2 separate regions of the Homo sapiens genome follow, and region 2 is linked to region 1. Evidence: promoter capture Hi-C in human tissues and cell types (Jung and others, 2019). All regions are on one chromosome and are shown on one strand. The core of a region is centred on a gene start or on the middle of the fragment in contact, and the rest is flanking DNA. Distances in the headings are between cores, read along the strand shown. Region 1 holds the start of KIF26B (kinesin family member 26B). Region 2 overlaps SMYD3 (SET and MYND domain containing 3).

Region 1 (4,392 bases), core at 1,671-4,170:
TGACCCAGTTAGAAACTTGCCTCTAAAGGAAAAAAAATAAAGAGCCCCAGACATGACAAAACTGGGTAAATATAAAAAACTTGACATTTTCACTGAAAGACAACAGATTGTTTCAAGTAAAATTGATGAAATTGTTTTGTGGATTTTATAATGCATGTAGATGTAAAATATATCAAATTAGTAGCACAAAGGAGGAAGGTAAGATGGAGAGGTTGCAAGTCTACATTTTAGGTGAAGCGGCACAATGTTAATTCTAAGTAGCCTATGAAATGTTAAAGATTCATATTATAGGCCAGGTATGGTGGTTTCATGCCATAATCCCAGCACTTTGGAAGGCGGAGGCGGGAAGACAGCTTGAGCTCAGGAGTTTGAGACCAGCCTGGGCAACACAGGGAAACCTTGTCTCTACTTAAAAAAAAAAAAAATTAGCCAGGTGTGGTGGTGTGCACCTGTAGTCCCAGCTACTAGGGAGGCTGAGGAGAGAGGATCATTTGAGCCTGGGAGATGGAGGCTGCCGTGTGCCATAATAGCGCCACTGCACTCTAGCCCAGGCAACAGAGTGAGCCCCTGCCTCAAAAAAAAAATCCATATTATAATCATCAGAGCTAAAAAGTCAACAGAGAGATGAAACTGGAATACTGAAAAGTTATTCAATTAACAAAAAAAGGCATGAGAGACAGAAGAATGAAAGAGAGTAGAGATAGAAAACAGACCCATACTAGCAACAACATGAAACTCAAAAACCTGTGTTAAGTGAAAAAAGCCAAACCCAAAAGAGTACATGCTGTACGGATTCTATGAATTAAAAACCCTTCCAGATCAGTCCACACTAACCCATGCTGATAGAAATCAGAACAGTAGTTTCTTATGAGAGGTGGGGATTGCCTGGGAAAAGGTAGATAACCTTCAAGAGGGACAGGAATTTATAGATGTTGATCGAGGTGGTGGCCTACGCAGAGTACACGTTTGTCAAAATTCATAGAACTTAACAATTAAAATGTGTGCGTTTCATCTTATGTATATACATTTTACATAAACATCAATTTTTGAAAGCTTCTTAAAAACTCTTGCAGAGCCTCCGGTTATAAACTTTAATCAACAGAGGGCGCTCGGAGCCCACCAAACACGCTTTGGGCCCCCAGCTACTTAGAAATGCAAATCAGAGCAGCTCTGGGCTCCCCCGTCTCCGAGGTGGATCGCGCAGCTCCCCAACACTCCCCCTCGACACCCCACCTTCCCCACCCGCGGCCTCGCCGGCTCGTTTCACCACACGCTGCTTTTTGGCTGATAAGCGGCTCGTGGCCAATGGCGATGATGTGTTTCGCGGCACCTACGCGAAATACAGATGCGGGTGGGAGCTGGCGCGTGCTGCCTGGAGGTGTACCTGCCCCCTAAGGTCCCCTATTGATAGGATCGCTTTTAAATTGGAAGTGGGAACGTAACGGAAACGTCCACTCTGTTCTTGCCATCTTCCTTTTGACCTTTTTACCTCGCTTTGGTGGCTGTGAAATATTCCCGCGCAGGAGCTGGAGCGGGGAGGAGTGGGGCAGAGCACGGGAGGCACAGAAGAAATTGTCCCCGAGGAAGGCAGAGTGGGGGCGTGGCCCCAGGCTTCCAGAACCCCGAACCTTTGTCTTCTTGCCCCCTCCTGCGTCGTCCACAGCTCAGAAGGAAGTCAGCGACCAGAAAGCCCTGAACGTCCTTCGCGCCCTCGCCCACCCCCGGGCTGGGTCTCCCCGCGGGCGCGGAGATGCCGTTACACCCCACGTGATCCCTGCGCCCGGCCAGTCCTTCCAGAGGCGTCTCGCGGGGTGTTAATTAAAGGTCACAACAAAACAGACCTGCTGGCTCACCAGAAGAAATGTCCTCCCGTGAAATGAAAAATGACACCCCAGAGCAGCCACGTGTGGAGCCTGGCATACGCCGGCTTCCTGCGCTCCTGGGCGCTGCGCCGGGGGACTGGGGCGGGGGGCGATCGGAGAGGGAGCGATGACGGGGTGCTCCGGAGACCCCGCGGGGCCCAGGCGCAGGAAGAAACGGGCGGCGGGGGGCGAGGGGCCCGATCCCACGCAAGGAGAGGCCAAGGCCAGCTCGCGCCACACCCCCTCTCCAGGCCAGAGTCGTCCGCGTGCAGCGCGGCGAAGCCCTCAGTTTCCCCTGCCCGGCAGCGGCCCGCTGGGTCACCAGGCTCACCTGTCCCAGCCCCGGGCGGCTTAGTCCATCACAGACCGGGGCTCGGGCGGGCGGGGGACCAAGGGCCCTAGTCCTGCGGCTGCGGTCGGGGAGGGTGGCCCCCCGGCCGGCCCGGGGTCGGTAGGGCAATTCCAGAAAAGGTTTGCCCGGCAGCTCTCCGAGAACAAAGGGCGGGGGGAGGACCCGGCATGTTTGTGGACTTGTTTGTGACTCAATCCCTTTTGCACGGCGTTTCACAGACAGACCTGCAAGCCTTGTCAGGAAGAGAAAGAACTTGGGGGCGGGGGAGGCTGGGGCACCGCATTTCCGTCCAGCCACGCTCGCTCGCGCGGCCCCCGGGCTCCAGGCTCGCGCAGCGGCGTTTCATTAGAGCCCCGGGCCCGGGCCGCGCGCCAGGAACTTCCCCGCACGCGGCGAGATCGACGATCCCCCGCCCCCAGCCCCAGCCCGGCTCCAGGCCTCGCAATGTCAGGCACGAGCGCCGCCACATAAAATGGATCCCGGCCGGCGCGGCGAGGGCGGCAGGTTCCCGAGGCTCCTCCGCGCTGCGCCCGGGCGCACACGCGCGCTGTGACCGCCGACCGCTCCCGGGCCACGCGGAGCCGCCCCTCTCCCGGCCCTCGCGCAACTGTCAGGCGAAACGGGCCGGCGGATATTGGCTCGGCGACACGCCGAGGCTCCTCCCCGAGTCTGGATCTTTATATTTTGGGAGAATTTCTTTGAACTCAGTTACCAAGCTCGGTGAAGGAGACAAGTTCCCACAGCTGACTCGGCTCGGCTCTCCCACCTTCCCGGCAGCGGCCGCGAGCCCTGATTGTATCCCTCGCTTTCCTCGTGGGGGAGCACGGACTGACTTGGCTGAAGAAAATGCCAGTTCTGTGGATGTGGCCGTGACAAGAGGACGTGCGGCTGGAAGAGGCAGAAGGGGACGAGGAAAAGCATGCTTTGAAGAGAAGAATAAACCAGCGACCCCAACCCTTTCTGCAAATTGGTGCTATTACTTGTGGGATCCATTTGCTTTCATTCCCTCCCACCCCACCGCTGAAGAAACCTTGCCCTGAGGGCTGAGAGCCAGCCCCCTGCAGCCGGGGGACGCTTCTGGGTTGGAGGACCTTCTGGATGTAGCGTCGGTGGAACCTTTAGATACTCTCCTCTGGAAAAGCCACCATGAATTCGGTAGCTGGGAATAAAGAGAGGCTTGCGGTCTCCACCAGGGGCAAGAAATACGGGGTAAGTTGTGACGGTACGACGCGGAGACGCGTTACCAGACCCATCTCGGCGGAGGTCCCCCTTTCCCCGGGATCGTGCGGCCCCGGCCCCGAGCTCTCCCCCGCTGCAGAGGCGCCCCCGGGGCTGGCGGGGTTGTGAGTGCGCGGAGGCGGGTCGGCCGCGGGGACGCCCGCACGCTCGCCTCGCTCTCGGAATTTTTTCAGCCCTCTCGTTCCTTCCTTTCCACGCACCCGTAACTTTTGCCGCATTCCTGCACTTCTAGGCAGAGTGAAGCCGAAGGGGAGGGTTTCCCATGAATGCTGGGCAGTACCTCGGATCGTTTAGCTGGAGCCGTGAGAGCCTCTCGTTTACCTGCAGGATCCGGAGAGTTGGACCCCGTATGAATAAAAATCCTGAAATCACAGCCCTCCCCCTACCCCCCCCATAGGGTCTTCCAGGATTTTGTTCCCGGGATCTTGCTGGGATAGGTGCCGGCTTCAAAAGCGTGGGGCGCTGAACCTATGGATCCCCCCCGCCTTGCAGAAGCCGTGGAAACGGCCCCGAGCGAGTCCCCTTCCTGACCCCAGGAGGAGGCCACCGGGGACCAGCGCAGGGGTCACCTGGGCGGTGGGGACTCACTTAAGGACAATTAACGAGACAGACGGAGGGCAATTTGGCCGCAGGGCTTGGAGAGGTCCCCAACCGACTCCCGTGGGCGGTTCGAGCGGGTACTTGGTGGCGCACGTATGACCCAGCTCCTGGGCGCTGCAGCCCGCCGCCTTGCAGCCCCTGACACCGGCGTGTCTTCCCCGCAGGTGAATGAAGTCTGCTCGCCCACCAAGCCCGCAGCGCCCTTCTCCCCGGAAAGCTGGTACCGGAAAGCATACGAGGAGTCGCGCGCCGGCAGCCGGCCCACTCCTGAGGGCGCGGGCTCAGCGCTCGGCTCCTCGGGGACCCCGTCTCCCGGCTCGGGCACCTCGTCCCCGAGCT
Region 2 (4,386 bases), core at 1,228-3,727, 1.0 Mb after region 1:
GGGATTACAAGTGTGAGCCACCACTCCTGGCCTAAGTCTTCTATTTTAAACAATCCCACCTTTAACCTCATTCACCTCTAGCTACAACACTTTATTTATCCCTTAATAGCCAGGTTGCTAGAAAAAAAACCCTTTATACTTGCTATCATCTCCATTTCCCCAAATTTCCAACCTCTCATAATATGTACTGTGACATCATTAGGCACTAAATCTACCCTTGCTTTGGGTGGGTTCTAATGACCTCTTAAATGCAAAGTGCAGAAGACTTTAATCCTTTCTGCTTACTGCCCCATACATGAGTCACTCCCTCTTCTACATTACTGTGGCCTCATTACACTGCAAGTTTACTAAAGGCAATCCATCAATCAATCTGGCATAGCTTTGGCTATATCCACTCATGTGGTATTGCACGCAGCCTACATTCACTGAACGAATCAATGGAAATAATAAGGGCCTTAAAGGCTCCGATGGCTTCATTGTGCCATCCGCTCTGCTTCTATCGCTACTAACTATGGAAAAAGTTAACATTTCTCTTACTAAGTGAATGATACCTTTGGCAAAGTAAGATATAAAAGGTGTAATGTTCTAGCTGATCCTGCTCCATACAGCTCCAGGTAAGTAATCTGCCCCAGTGAGAGATCTGTTTATACCGGCAAAGTGCTTCAGGGCTTAAGTCTTCAGAATTTGACCCCCGCTCACGGCACAGAAGGATGCCCAGGACACACTATAAAGCTATTAGAAATTGAAACCAATAGCCCTCCTAGTTTCTTTTAATAGACTTTCAGATGCAGTGTTTTCTGCTTTCCTTTAAAAACAGTAGAATAGTAATTAACATTTAGTAATTTTCAAAGCAGTTGTGCAGGAAGATTTCCTGAACTATGAAAGCCCACAAATTTGGCAACAAGAAGTATCACAACAGAGAAACAGCTCTTGGTTTATTGTTCATTGTTCCCCACACTTAGTTAATGTGTTACAATGACAATGTATGAAATACATGAAGTTACCATCAAAACAAACAATGTTTTTTTTTTGTTTTGTTTTTTGTTTTTTGTTTTTTTTTTGAGATGGAGTCTCACTCTGTCGCCCAGGCTGGAGTGCACTGGTGCAATTTTGGCTCACTCTAAGCTCCGCCTCCCGGGTTCATGTGATTCTCCTGCCTCAGCTTCATAAGAAGCTGGGACTACAGGCGCCTACCACCACGCCTGGCTAATTTTTTGTATTTTTAGTAGAGACAGGGTTTCACCGTGTTAGCCAGGATGGTCTCGAGCTCCTGACCTTGTGATCTGCCCGCCTCGGCCTCCCAAAGTGCTGGGATTACAGGCATGAGCCACCGTGCCTGGCCCAAAACAAACAGTATATTAAACAAGAAAAATGAATTTATGAATTAGCTTTCTTCCCTCCCAAACTCCCTTACTCTACACAAGTCATTCCTGATGGAGAGATTGAAATAAAATGAGAAATTTAATAATGAATAATAGTAATACTATTACTAATAATTCCAGCAATTATACTGGTATTACTTTAAAAAGAAAAAAATATTGCTTAATCTTTAGCTTTTGCTCCACAGCAAATTCCAATTCTTTCAGGACACAGCCAAGAGAAAGCAGATAATGTTCGTCCCTTATTTCCATACGTTTCTTGTTTCAAAATGGCAACCCAAAAGGAATACTCCACTGATTGTTTGTAGATATGCTGATTAAAGAAAAATATAAAATTTCAAGCCCATCAACCAGTGCTGCTCTATAATAATCAAAAACTACCTTTACAATAAAAGGTTATCAAACCAAACAGTCTGATCATCACATAATTTCTCATGAAAGCTGAAAAGGAAATACAATCATTCACTTATTGGTTCATCTTTCACCAAACACTTATTGTACTAAATGCTGGCAATACAGAAGTGAAGATCTGCTTCATGCCCTAAAGATGCTCATAGTTAGCACCAAGAACTACACATCTCGCCAGGTACAGGGGCTCGTGCCTGTAATCCCGGCACTTTGGGAGGCCGAGGCAGGTGGATCACTTGAGGTCAGGAGTTCGAGACCAGCCTGGCCAATATGGGAAAATCCCATCTCTACTAAAAATAAAAAATAAAAAAAAATAGCCTAGTGTGGTGGCACGCACCTGTAGTCCTGGCTACTCAGAGGCTGAGGCAGGAGAATCGCTTGAATCTCAGAGGCTGAGGTTGCAATGAGCCAAGATTGTGCCACTGTACTCCAGCCTGGGTGACAGAGCGAGACTATGTCTTCAAAAAAAAAAAAATATATCGACCTCTAAGAATCACATTTATCTTGAGCTACAGAGTTCGAAGGACAGAATTTTTTTTTTTCAATTAATGTTAAGGTCTGGAAGTTTGACTTTGGCTCTTAACCTTTGGCTCACATACCTAATTTGGTTACTATGTGTTTACTACATGCAAAAAGACTTCCTTGGGCCTATGAATCATTTCTAGTAAATGGAGCTAATAATAACTTTCCATCAGAAAGCTCTTTGTCCCATTTTTGTATCAGAAATGGGCAAGAAAAAAGTGAAACAAAATAAAACAACAACGTGAAGATTTTTTTAAATCCTGCCCCTGGGATGTTGATGAGGGCAGAGACAAGCAATTTACCTGCACACAAAATTAAGTTTTTTAAATAATTTAGATTCTAAAGAAAGGAACTTTTAGAATGACATCTGCTAATACTCTAAAGCTTATAACTCTGAGTTATTGGGAAGGTAAGAACATATTTTCCCCATAAAAATAAGTTCTATATCATGGTTATGATCCAAGGTGAACTCACAGAAACCTACTTTCTTTGGTTCCTTCAATAAACATTAAAAGCCTGTTATTTGTGAGGCACTATGCCAACCATTAGGGATATAAAACCAAATAGGACTCAGTCTCTGCCCACAGGAGCTTAAGAGTCTAGTGGAGGAAACTAAATTAACATTTGCAAGAAATGCTGTGTTTCCTAAAATATCTACAAGGTGTTTTGGGGAGCAAAGAAAACGGGCACCTTAATCAGACTACGAAAGGGAGAGTCACAGAATGCTTTCCCTTAAGAGGTCATATTTGAGCTGAATTTGAAGGCTGATGAGGAATTACCTACACTAAAAAGGAAATCACAGGTAAAAAGGTCGAACAAACCGTATTTAGTGATTTGCTGAATCATGGAGGTGGGTGACACAAAGGACCCTAGAATGACTCAGGTGTCTGGTTTGGATAAACAATCCAACGTAGGCACCATTCACAAAGAAAGGGATGCTAGGAGGTACGAGGGCAAAGATGAAAAGGTCATACGCAGACCGCAAAGCTTAAACCTTCGCCTCACATCTGTTTGGAACAGCAGTAGCTTTTTACTTAGCGCTTACATCACCAAAGCCAATGAGTAGCGAAGTCTGGGACGAGGACAAGAGCTGCCCTTGGCATCACTGCCTGTCACCTGTCCCTTCGGGGCGCCCCCTGCCTCCACTGCTTGGCCTCTGTTTGTAGCTTGTGTTTTGGCCTTGCCAGCAAGTGTCCTTCAGGGAGGTCTGGCTACTCACAGTTTATAGATGAGAACACTGAGGCAGAGCGATAATTAACTCGACAAGAGAAAACAACCAGCAAATGGCCCTCTTGTCCCAGAGCCCACGTTCTTCACCAGAACACTGCCTAGTTTAAGAAACAGCAGCAATTCTGTTTCTTATAAACTCATGAGCTTCCCAAAGACAGGCTCTCATCCGGTCAGGCATCATGGGTGGATCATCAAGCAAACAGATGCCAACAGACATTCCCTCCCAAGTTATTCCTTTTAATCCTGTCCTTTGTCAGATGCAAAAGGCCTAATTCAATACTGGAATTCCTCTATATCCATTATCAGGTCACCTGGATAGCCTGTCCTAAAAGAATGAAGTCCCTCCTTGCCACAACAATAAGCTTTGTCTTTTTTCCCCCCCATAGGTCAGCTTCCTTCTTTTATATTCTGCTACAATCTGTTGTTGTGGTTAATTACACAAGAGACTAGCATGGGTGTGTCAATCCCTAGTGGAACTGCGTTGAGAATCTGCAAACCAGACCATATATTATGGGGCTTCCAAATTTTCAAGTGCCACAGAATCGCAAGCTTCTGATCACTGCATTAAGGATCTAGACCTGTGGTTCAGATGAGAGATGAGCTTCATAAAGAAGTATGTTGCCAGTGAGACCCCACTAGGTTGAAGATTGCAGGAAGCTGAGATGCTTAAATTATTCTAATTAATGGGCTTATTCCCCACTGGTTATGCACAGCAGATTGAATGGACAGTTGCAGGTGCAAACTGAGAGGTAAACAGACCTTTAAATAAGTAAAGAGCCAGGGAGCACTAGCTGGGGAAGCACAGGTTTCAGAATGAATTATTAAAGCCTGCACTGATCCACAGTCG

What was found. The method cuts DNA at HindIII sites, captures the fragments that hold promoters and counts their contacts. A contact is called where the count stands out against the background at its distance.
Region 2: a contact is called between a fragment that was not itself captured here and the fragment with the promoter of KIF26B in region 1, in 2 of the 25 tissues and cell types used here (dorsolateral prefrontal cortex and hippocampus).

What each region holds. Positions count from the first base shown.
Region 1 is chr1:245,152,065-245,156,456 of GRCh38, forward strand. KIF26B (kinesin family member 26B) reads left to right here and starts at 2,921. Exons shown (of 15, transcript NM_018012.4): 1 at 2,921-3,423; 2 at 4,218-4,392. The coding sequence starts at 3,361. RefSeq lists enhancers at 1,057-1,732, 1,733-2,408 and silencers at 2,263-2,462, 4,330-4,392. The HindIII fragment of the contact is 11,465 bases long and covers 1-4,392 here.
Region 2 is chr1:246,153,739-246,158,124 of GRCh38, forward strand. The region is part of intron 5 of SMYD3 (SET and MYND domain containing 3); the gene reads right to left. Among named protein-coding and RNA genes, the nearest start is that of SMYD3-AS1, 47 kb to the left of the region's middle. The HindIII fragment of the contact is 3,034 bases long and covers 961-3,994 here.